Regions from separate parts of the Homo sapiens genome. Here regions 2, 3 and 4 are each linked to region 1. Evidence: promoter capture Hi-C in 16 types of primary human blood cells and fetal thymus (Javierre and others, 2016). All regions are on one chromosome and are shown on one strand. Each heading gives the region's core, a stretch centred on a gene start or on the middle of the fragment in contact. The rest is flanking DNA. Distances are from core to core; before and after follow the strand shown. Region 1 holds the start of PAWR (pro-apoptotic WT1 regulator). Region 2 overlaps OTOGL (otogelin like). Region 3 overlaps OTOGL (otogelin like). Region 4 overlaps OTOGL (otogelin like).

What was found. The method cuts DNA at HindIII sites, captures the fragments that hold promoters and counts their contacts. A CHiCAGO score of 5 or more calls a contact.
Region 2: a fragment that was not itself captured here is called in contact with the fragment with the promoter of PAWR in region 1 in 1 of 17 cell types (megakaryocytes); the score reaches 6.4 in megakaryocytes.
Region 3: a contact is called between a fragment that was not itself captured here and the fragment with the promoter of PAWR in region 1, in 1 of 17 cell types (total CD4 T cells). The highest score is 5.9, in total CD4 T cells.
Region 4: a fragment that was not itself captured here is called in contact with the fragment with the promoter of PAWR in region 1 in 1 of 17 cell types (megakaryocytes); the score reaches 8.9 in megakaryocytes.

Annotation. Positions count from the first base shown.
Region 1 is chr12:79,689,661-79,692,360 of GRCh38, forward strand. PAWR (pro-apoptotic WT1 regulator) reads right to left here and starts at 1,304. Exons shown (of 7, transcript NM_002583.4): 1 at 1,212-1,304; 2 at 69-731. The coding sequence starts at 584. It overlaps PPP1R12A-AS2 (PPP1R12A antisense RNA 2), which reads left to right and starts at 372. Exons shown (of 7, transcript NR_187531.1): 1 at 372-736. RefSeq lists silencers at 12-531, 1,302-1,601. The HindIII fragment of the contact is 6,027 bases long and covers 1-2,646 here.
Region 2 is chr12:80,221,948-80,224,647 of GRCh38, forward strand. It overlaps OTOGL (otogelin like), which reads left to right. Exons shown (of 59, transcript NM_001378609.3): 7 at 144-298. Among named protein-coding and RNA genes, the nearest start is that of OTOGL, 120 kb to the left of the region's middle. The HindIII fragment of the contact is 1,260 bases long and covers 712-1,971 here.
Region 3 is chr12:80,278,166-80,280,865 of GRCh38, forward strand. OTOGL (otogelin like) reads left to right here. Exons shown (of 59, transcript NM_001378609.3): 25 at 3-110; 26 at 863-1,001. Among named protein-coding and RNA genes, the nearest start is that of PTPRQ, 160 kb to the right of the region's middle. The HindIII fragment of the contact is 3,705 bases long and covers 1-2,700 here.
Region 4 is chr12:80,204,121-80,206,907 of GRCh38, forward strand. The region is part of intron 1 of OTOGL (otogelin like); the gene reads left to right. Among named protein-coding and RNA genes, the nearest start is that of OTOGL, 110 kb to the left of the region's middle. The HindIII fragment of the contact is 1,592 bases long and covers 740-2,331 here.

The DNA.
Region 1 (2,700 bases), core at 54-2,553:
AGGAGGAAGACACCGGGAGGCAGCTGCCCGCCCCGGCCCGGTCCGGCTGCGGCCCCCGCCCGGCTCACCTCTGCGGCAGGGATGTTGACCACGCCGGTGGAGCGCCGCTTCTCCCGCAGCTTCCTCTTCTCGATCTGCCCCTTGCCTTTCCTGGCACTGGGGCCCGAGCTCTTGCCCTTCTCTGGGACGCCGTCCGGCTCCTCCTCGTCACGCTGGGGCGGCGGTGCAGCCGAGGCAGAGGCGGCTGGGGGCTCGTCCTCCGACCGCCGCGGGCCGGGGGCCGCCCGCGTCAGCATGGCGGAGCCGACCGCGCAGTTCACGCCCCCGGGACCGGGGACGGCAGGTGCGGCCGGCGCGCCGCCCGGGAGGTTGTTGTTGAGCTCGTTGGCAGCGGCGGCCGCCGGGGTGCCCAGAGCCCCCGCGGGGGGCTTCCCAGCGGCGTCGCTGCTGCCCCCTCCCGGGGGGGCCGGGCCCGGGGGGTTCTGCTTGGCGCGCATCTTCTCGCGTTTCGCCTTCCACTCCTCCAGGAAGTCTGTGGTGCTGCCGCCGAGGCCGCTGCTGGTCCGGTAGCCACCGGTCGCCATATTCCCAAAGGGGCCGGTCGGGCTCTCACCTCAGGCCGCCCACCAGGGCTCCGGCCGCTGCCTCCTCTTCCTTCCTGCGGCCCCGAGGATGCCAGGAGACGACCTCCAGGAGAGGGACGGCCGCCGCTCCCACAGCAGCCGGCGGGGCTGAGGTGAAAGACAAAAGGGGGCGGGTAAGGGAAGCGTAAGATCCCCGCCCGACCCAAGGGTCTGCCCCCGGGCTGCGCCCCTTGGAGTCCTCGAGCGCGCCCACCAGTCACTACCGGCCAGCAGCCGCCGGGTCCCCACCCTGCAAAGTTTCTCCCACGCACCTACAGTACGGACCCCGACGATCGCCGCCCCTAGAAGGGAGGAGAGAGGACTGACCCCACCCCCAAGTCGGCCCGCCCGCCCCATCCCCACCAAGGTCCGCGCCGGCGGCGGTCGAGATACTAGGGCTAGACCCGCCACCTGTCGGCTCGTCGTATCGCCTGCTCCGCGCTCTAGCCACCGCCGGTCCGAGGTCCCCGTCAGCTACAACCCCACTCCCAAGGCGAGGCGCGGAGCTCCTAGCCGGTTCGCAGAGGAGGCGGGGACCCAGCTGTCCCGCCGAGCGTGGAAAGGACCGGGTGTGAGCGAGCGCCTTACCTTGGAGGAGCTTGTAGGGGACGAGGCGTAGGGCTGGGATCCGGCTCCCAGGTGTGCCGAAGCTGGCGCGCGCTCTTCCGCCGCGCGGAAAGTGCCGCGGCAAACTCGCGGTGCGGAGCTCCAGGCAATCCCAGGACAGGAGGGAGGGAGAAGAAGGAGGGAGGGAGGGAGGGAGGGAGCCAGGGGCGGGAAGGGAGCCGAGCGGCGCCGAAGCACGAGCGGAAAAGGCCGAGGCGGCGCGCGAGGGGCGCGGCGCGCGGTGGGAAGGGTCGTGGCCGCTGACGCCCCGCCCCCGGCGCTCAGGTGCGCGGCGTCGCGTCCGGCCCGCCGCTGCAGCCTGCCCTGCGCCAGCCGTCCTCTGCCCCGCTCCCGCCGCAGACCACAGCGCGCCCGCCGCGCTCCGCCCGCGGCCTGCGAGTTAGACGGCACATTCCTGGGCTAGCAGCTTCGCGGCGTCCGGCCTCCCGGCGCCTCCGACTCCGGGGCGGGAACGGCACTCCACGCCCTTCTTGCTTGTCTTCTCCGCCTCTCTCTTCTCCCACCACTCTTCCTTTTAAGTACAAGACCGTATTATTTGAGAGAAAGTCTCGAACGCTGCTGGCTAAGGGGAAAAGTGCGATAACTTGTGATGATTCAGGGAATGACTAGACAGGATGGGAAAATACCCACGTGTCTCTTTTCCTAGTCGCTGCTCCCTTTTCAGATGTACTAGGGCAGCGGGCAGGAGAATAGAAAGACCTGAGACAAACCCAGCACCCTCCTTCTAAGAAAACTGCGGTGCCCTGGTGAAAAGGGTTGGCTAAGAGGAAGGACTTACTAGTATCTTAGGGTTGCGGGAGAAAAAACTCAGTTCGACAGTTTATTGTATTGGCGATTCCAGTCTTGGAGTTTTCCCCTTAACCCTGTCTCTGCCTCTCCTCTTTACAGAGAATGAATTTAGCAGCAAAGCTCCCTACCAAAGTACTAACGCTGCACTGATGCTAATTTGAGATGAGCTGGGGCAGTGATTGTCTCTATTTTTTCATTATTAACATGCCAGAGGCTTATCCTCTGATGCAAGTCATCTGAAATTTCTGGATCAGAGCGGGGTGGGCTGTCACTGACGCACCTAAGACTGACCTTTCTATATCCAAGTAATGTCAGGGCACATCATTGTGGGAGGCTACAAATGCCAGGTCTCCATTTTGTAAAAAAGTAGGAGAGCCCTAAGTCACGCTCTTACCTAACATAAACCTTTCTTCCTACTTAATATTCCTGTTTTGCCCAGGTAGCACATGATGAGTGAGCAATCAGTGTTTGCCTGCCACAGAACTGGGAACAGAAGAAAGTGATTCACATGCTCTATATTTCTCAGGGAAAGACAGTTTTGGTCTTTGGTCTGGCTGTTGTGGGAAACGTATGGCGAGAGCTCTGGAAAAATCCTTAGAAAATTAAAAGCTTTTGTTGGGAATAGGTCTAAAAGGCTGAGCGGCTGTTTACCTAAGCTAGT
Region 2 (2,700 bases), core at 92-2,591, 530 kb after region 1:
TTTATGTTAGTTATTTCTTCCTGTGTTATAGACCAAGGAAGGAAATTTGAATGAAAATTAGAATCATTTACCATGACTGACTGAACATTGCTAGAAACGTGTAATTTATTTTGCCTACAAAATATTATCCTGTTTCTTTTCAGTCCCAAACATGGGCAACGGCAGAGATGGGATTTGTAAAACCTGGGGACAGTATCATTTTGAAACATTCGATGGCATCTACTATTACTTCCCAGGAAACTGTTCTTACATTTTTGCAAAGGACTGTGGTGATTTGGAGCCTCGGTACACTGTATGGGTAGGTGATTGTAGGACATGATTAACTTAAAAATATTATCTCTGGAAAAGTATGTATTTTTAAAGTACTGGGAAAATGATGCAAAATATATACTAATAATAGAATGAATACTTATTTTGAAGAGGGTCTGGGTTCAGTTACGAACCATATTACTCACACTTCCTTCCTTCCTGATACTTCCAGTGAGATATGTCCAGCTGGTTTAGTTTTTTGAAATGACACCCTCAGTATGAACCAGAGGCTAACATTTATAAAATGGAGTGTATGAGTTACATAAGCACAGGCTATCGGATGTGAAGACTGACAGCTAATTGCTAGGTAGTTTGATACTATATGACTGAACTCAGAGAATTAATTCTTAGTTGCAGAATTCTTGATTCAAATGAATTCTTAGGAGACCTCTCGAAAATATAAGCTTCAGAGTGGCTCTAGTTGAATAAGGATGTCAGGGACCTCTTTCTTTGCCTACTATCTTCTGAATTTCTAGGTATTTCAATCACTACCAGGAAACTGCTATGTTGTTGGATTTAAAAGCTACAACTCTCCATAGTCAAAACATATTTGAATCTCTGTTATGCTTTCCCTTTTTACTTACGTTGGGGCTGCCTACATTCTCCTCCTTTCTAAGGTGATGCAAATATTAAAAGTAGGCCCTGAAACTTCTTTTTTTTCATAGGTTTTTGGGGGAAGAGATGGTGTTTGGTTACATGTTGATTTCTGAGATTTTAGTCCACTATCCCCTGAGCAGTGTACATTGTACCCAATGTGTAGTCTTTTACCCCTCATCACCCCCCAGCCTTTCCCCTTGGTCCCCAAAGTCCATTGTGTAATTCTTATCCCTTTGCATTCTCATAGCTTAGTTCCCACTTACGAGTGAGAACATATGATGTTTGGTTTTCTATTCCCAAGTTACTTCACTTAGGCTAATGCTTTCCAATTCCACCCAGGTTGCTGGAAATGCCATTATTTTGTTCCTTTTTATGGCTGAGTAGTATTCCATGGTGTGTGTGTGTGTATGTATATATATGTATATATATATGGCATATATGTATATATATCATATTTTCTTTATCCACTCATTGATTGATGGGCATTTGGGCTGGTTCCATGTTTTTGCAATTGTGAATTGTACTGCTATAAACATGTGTATGCAGGTATCTTTTTTTGTATAATGACTTCTTTTCTTCTGGGGAGATACCTAGGAGTAGGATTGCTGGGTCAAATGGTAGATCTACTTTTAGTTCTTTCAGGAATCTCTATACTCTTTTTCATAGTAGTTGTACTAGTTTAAATTACCAACAACCGTGTGAAAGTGTTCCCTTTTCACCACATCCATACCAACATCTATTATTTTTTGATTTTTAAATTATGGTAATTCTTGCAGGAATAAAGTGGTATTGTATTGTGGTTTTCATTTGTTTTTCTCTGATAATTAGTGATGTTGATAATTTTTTCATGTTTGTTGGCCATTTGTATACCTTCTTTTGAGAATTGTCTATTCATGTCCTTAGCTCACTTTTTGATGGAATTGTTTGTTTTTTTCTTGCTAATTTGTTTGAGTTCCTTGTAGATTCTGTATATTAGTCCATTGTTGGATGTATAGATTGCAAAGATTTTCTTCCACTCTGTGACTTGTCTGTTTACTCTGTTGATTATTTCTTTTGCTGCATAAAAGCTTTTTAGTTTAATTAAGTCTTGTCTGTTTATATTTGTTTCTGCTGTATTTGCTTTTGGGTTCTTGGTCATGAATGCTTTGCCTAAGCCAATGTCTAGAAAGCTTTTCCAATGTTATATTCTAGAATTTGTATGGTTTCACGTCTAGATTTAAGTATTTTATCCATCTTGAGTTGATTTTTGTATAAAGTGAGAGATGAGGATCCAGTTTCATTCTTCTGCATGTGGCTAGCCAATTATCCCAGCACCATTTGTTGAATAGGATGTCCTTTCCCCACTTTATGTTTTTGTTTACTTTGTCAAAAATTAGTTGGCTGTAAGCATCTGGCTTTATTTCTGGATTCTCTGTTGTTCTATATGACTGTTTTAATACCAGTACCATGCTGTTTTGGTGACTATGGCCTTATACTATAGTTTGAAGTCGGGTAATGTAATGCCTCAAACTTTGTTCTTTTTGCTTAGTCTTGCTTTGGCTATGTGGCTTTTTTGGTTCCATATGAATTTTATGATTGTTTTTTCTAGTTCTGTGAAGAATGATGGTGGTATTTTCATGGGAATTGCATTGAATTTGTAGATTGCTTTTGGCAGTGTGGTCATTTTCACAATATTGATTCTACCCATCAACGAGCATGGGATGTGTTTCTATTTGTTTGTGTTGTCTATGATTTCTTTCAGCAGTGTTTTGTAGTTTTCCTTGTAGAGGTCTTTCACCTCCTTGATTAAATATA
Region 3 (2,700 bases), core at 157-2,656, 590 kb after region 1:
AGAATGGCAGAGCACAGAGGAAAGTGTTATGTTCCTGAAAGCTGCCCATGTATTTGGAAAGATTGGGAGTATCTCTCAGGAGAAGTGATTGCTACACCGTGTTACACCTGGTAAGGAGATCCATTTATTTCACAAATATTTTCCTAAGTAATTGTGTAAATTTCAATCATCTTTTATTTATTTAATGAGACTGACATCAGCAAAAAGTAAATCAAGCCTCAGCAAATAATTTAAAGGCCTGCAGGAGTTGGTGGACAGTTACTATCTGCAGGGGACTATATCATTATTTTTATGCATATTTGTTCAGCCCAGAAGAAAACTGTGAAACACAACAATCTAAAATTTTAATAGGAAAAAATATCTCATGTTTATAAGAAAGTGCTAAATGTTACAAAGAAAAGACCGTATTTAATGGAAGGTTTTCTGTTTCAAGGTAAGTCAAAAGAATACCATAAAATAAAATTTGAAATATAATTTCCCTAAAATATGGACAAAGATTCTAAACTCATGAGCAATGTCATGTCTAATGCATTTAAATTTACTCAAATATGGGAGATGGCATTGTGCTTTTTCAGCTACCAGCAGACCTGTGTTCAGTTTTTCATTCTATCATCTACTTTCTGTGTGACCTATGCACAATTCCTAGGCTCGGTTTTGGTGTCTGATAATTTATTTAAAGGAAGTGAAAAACGTATGCCTAATTTGTCAATGTAATAGGTGGTATCAGAATGAACTGGCAATATTCGTAAGGGATATTGACTCATGAATTCTCTTGAATACAGACATTCCAATGTTGCTGTCACTTGAAATCACTAGTTAGAGTCGTTTCTTTAGAAAGGTAACTTTTGTTATTTTTTAATAGCGTTTGTCGACGAGGAATGTTCAATTGCACATATTATCCATGCCCAGCAGTGTGCACAATATACGGGGACCGACATTATTATTCTTTTGATGGACTAGAATATGACTATATCAGTGATTGCCAGGTGTTTTTGATAAAGGTAGGTCACAGTTACACATTTTTATTTGCATTCGTGTAAAGATTTAATGTAAAAAACAAGTATGCTGGTCCCTGATATATCAAATTCATGTGTTATTTATAAAACCTATAAAACAATTATATATATTTTCAACTTTTATTTCAGGTTCGGGGGTACTTGGGAAGGTCTGTTAATGTGGGTATATTACATGTTGCTGGGGTTTGGTGTACAAAGAATTTCATCATGCAGGTAGTAGCATAGTACCCAATAGATAGTTTTTTGACCCTTACCCTCCTCCCATCCTTCACCCTTAAGTAGTAGGCCCCAATGTCTATTATTCCCCTCTTTGTTTCCATATATACCCAATGTTTAGCTCCCACTTATAAGTGAGAACATGCGGTATTTGGTTTTCTGTTCCTGTGTTAATTCACTTATGATAATGGTCTCCAGCTGCATCCATGTTGCTGCAAAAGACATTTCTTTCTTATGGCCATGTAATATTCCATGGTGTATATGTACCACATTTTCTTTATCCTTTCCACTGTTGATGGGCATTTAGGTTGATTCCATGTCTTTGCTATTGTGAGTAGTGCTGCAATGAATGTATGCATACATGTGTCTTTACGGTAGAATGATTTATATTCCTTTGGGTATATACACAATAATGGGATTGCTGGGTTGACTGGTAATTCTGTTTTAAGTTTTTTAAGAAATTGCCACACTGCTTTCTACAGTGGCTAAACTAATTTACATTCTCACCAGCAGCATATAGCAGTGTATAAGCATTCCCTGTTCTTCGCAACCTTGCCAACATCTGTTTTTTTTTGACTTTTTAATAATAGCCATTTTGACTGCTGTGAGATGATATCTTATTATGGTTTTGATTTGCATTTCTCTAATAATTAATGATGTTGAGCATTTTTTCATATGCTTGTTGGCTGCATGTATGTATTCTTTTGAGATGTGTCTGTTCATGTCCTTTGCCCATTTCTAATGGGGTTGTTTTGTACTTATTGACTTGTTTAAGTTCCTTGTAGATTCTGGTTATTAGGCCTTTGTAGGGTGCATAATTTGCAAATATTTTCTCCCATTCTGTAGGTTTTCTGTTTATTTTGTGGACATTTCTTTGGGTGTGCTGAAGCTCTTTAGTTTAATTAGGCCCCACTTGTCAATTTTTGTTTTTGTTGCAATTGCTTTAGGTGTCTTTGTTATGAAATCTTTGACAAGGCCTACATCCAGAATAGCATTCCCTAGGTTTTCTTCTAGGTTTTTTATGATCTTAGGTCTTACTTTTAAGTCTTTAATCCATCTTTGGTTGATTTTTGTATTTAATGCAAGGAAATGTTCCAGTTTCAACCTTCTGCATATGGCTAGCTGGTTATCCCAGCAGCATTTATTGAATGGAGAATCCTTTCCTCATTGCTTATTATTGTCAGCTTTGTCAAAGATCAGATGGTTGTAGGTATGTGGCTATGTTTTTGGGTTCTCTAACCTGTTCCATTGTGTCTGTTTTTGTGCCAGTACCATGCTGTTTTGGTTGTTGTAGTCTTGTAGTATAGTTTGGAGTTGGGTAGTTTGATGCTTCCAGCTTTGTTCTTTCTGCTTAGGAATGGCATTGAATTTGTAGATAGCTTTGGGAAGTATGGCCATTTTAACAATATCGATTCTTCCTACTCATGAGCATAAAATGTATTTCCATTTGTTTGTGTCGTCTTGATTT
Region 4 (2,787 bases), core at 286-2,785, 510 kb after region 1:
GATAAAGGGGAAACCTTTTTTGTGGGCTGATCAAGCTTTTTTTGACTCTCAATTCAAACGAAGGGCATAATTCCTTCTAAGTTATGTTTTCATACTGATTTGTGCTGTGTTGAATATCACAGTAATGCCATATCTCCAAAAGCAGTTTTCCATATCAATCTTGCCAATATAGGGGAAGCAGAAGATGATAGGCTAACGTTTGACACTCCAGTGGCTCTTGTCATAAATCAGATTGCCAGGTGTCTGATTTGGAACCTTGGTGTTGTATGAAGTCATCCAATCACGACATTTTGGGATTTGACAGGTTTTGTTTTATAGTTTAAATAATTGGATCCAAGTATAGCACGCTTTCTTTACAAATTTACAGTTATTTATTTTGAAGAACGTTTGTTTGTAAGTAAGCTAAGTAAGTTGTAATTAAGTTGAAAAAGTAAGAAAGAAAATATATAAAGTAACCTAGAAAATAAAAGCGTGTAATTTTTGATGCTTGGTGGTTTGGTTTTAATAATATGGCAGATTACATGATATAAAAATCTTCCAAGTATAAAGTACTTGGAAGTACGGAATTTAATAAAATAGTCAACCATGTAAATGGTTGAATAAGTTCACTAGAATGTAAGGAATATTACCAGAGACCAGAAACAAAACAGAAACTGGACTTGGTTTACTTTACTTTATGTTTGGGATTTGAATTTATATTCTGTGGTCTGTGAACCCTTAAGCTGAGAAATTAACATGAAGCTTCCTGGAGCACTTGGCAGAAGTTGGTACAAAATCTTTTTTGGAGGGGAACATACTCAACTTTGGTGGTAAAGGATTCCCATATAAAATGCCCTGCCAGACATGGACCCCAAATTCAAAATTACAAAATCCATGAAGTCATCTATCCTAAGTGAGAGAAACGAACAACAAACAACAAGATTAGAACCACCCCTACTGCCACTAAAAAATTGAAATAACATTCTTTCTCAACAACTCTAAAGTAAGTACATAAAAATTATTGAAGATATAAAGGAATTCAAAGCATGAGAAACCAACTTTATGGTATTAAATAGTGCCTTACATTAATATTTTCACTATATGGTACAAGTGCAAAGTGTTGTAGTAGTTCAGAGAATGAAGATAGCTGCAGAAACTGAACTCGATGCTAAAATGTTGACAAGAGAAAACTTTAGTTGAAGAAACATTACTTCTTTCAAGGTATCAATTAGATATTACAAATCAACGGCATCACAGCAAGTTGAAAAACAAATGTCGCTATAAAACATAACACATTAACTTCTGGGGATGAGTGTTAAATTGAAATCATGACCAACACAGATACTGCTTATGAAATATAATCATATCCTTACTCAGAAAAGGTAAGATAGATGCTACTTCTAAAATTATATGAAACATCCCAGAAACTGCCAAGCAACACACATCCAGAAAGCACAAATAGAATACTACAAACTATCTTGTAATAAGACAGTTACATTCAGAGTGGCAAACATCATTTTAAAGATACAAGATTCTATTTGCTGGCTCAAATGATAACATAAATTCTGGATAAAATCTATGAACTTGAAATGTGTTAGGTTTAGTAACACAAGTAAAGAGTATTTGCATTTCACTAGCAGAATGTGATATTACGGGAGTCAAATGTTATCTACTTTAAATTTGTTGTCAATTGATGAAAAATGAGTGTTATGTAAATCACCAAAGAAATTAACTTTCCTCAAAAATGATGAGCTTCATTACAAATATCCCATTATTATCATTGACATATATACTCCTCAATAAAAATTTTCCCATTCTTGCCAGTTGTTTTAATGTGTTGGGTTGAGGCCAATAGGCTGTCAGGTGTCACTTTCTAAAGATCATATTCCATGTGGGAAAATGTGCAGTGCTTTTGTAGCAGAAAGGGAACTGTTTATTGCTTGTATTATGTAGTTGTCTCAGACTTCTTATGAACTTAATATCACTTCACAAGCTGGTGGCTGGCTTACTTTTTGCCAAAGTTCTTTTGTCAGGGTGGAATGAAATATAAAAGCTGTCAATTACATTTTGACAGTAATAATTACATGTAGCAACAGTCATAAATTCTGTGTTTTGTGGCTCTGAGTCTAATCTTTCATCTAAACTCTCTTCTATTGCAGCTATTTAAGGAAGTCTGTTTTGCTTATTTTCATGCAGGCTACCATTTCATATATCGAGTTCATAATGTAGTTAGTTGAAAAAGGACTTGGGATTTTTGTTATTGTTCTCTTTGCCATTGTTCATTCTCCTTTTCTAACATTTTTCCTACTATGAGCCTGGATGGAAGAGGAGCAGAGAGAAGACATACACCAAAGCTTGCTCTATCTATAAAATAGTAACAACCCTGAGGCTTCCTCTTACAAATTCTACTATTTTTTTCTTTATTTTTTGAGACAGGGTCTTGCTCTGTTGCCAGGCTGGAGTGCAGTGGTGTGACCTCAGTTCACGGCAACCTTGACCTCCTGGGCTCAAACGATCCTTCCACCTCAGCCTCCATAGTAGCTGGGACTACAGGAGCATGCTACCATGCCCAGCTAATTGTTTTGTATTTTTTTTTTTTTTTGTAGAGGCAGAGTTTCATCATGTTGTCCAGGCTAATCTTAAACTTCTGAGCTGAAGTGCTCCCTCCCAAAGTGCTGGGACTACAGGCGTGAGCCACTGTGCCTGGTCAAATTCTACCAGACAAAACCACTTAACAGTTTTTAAATACATATAGTTCAAAATAGAAAAATAGTCATAAAAACATCAAATAATACAGGCTTGAACTTT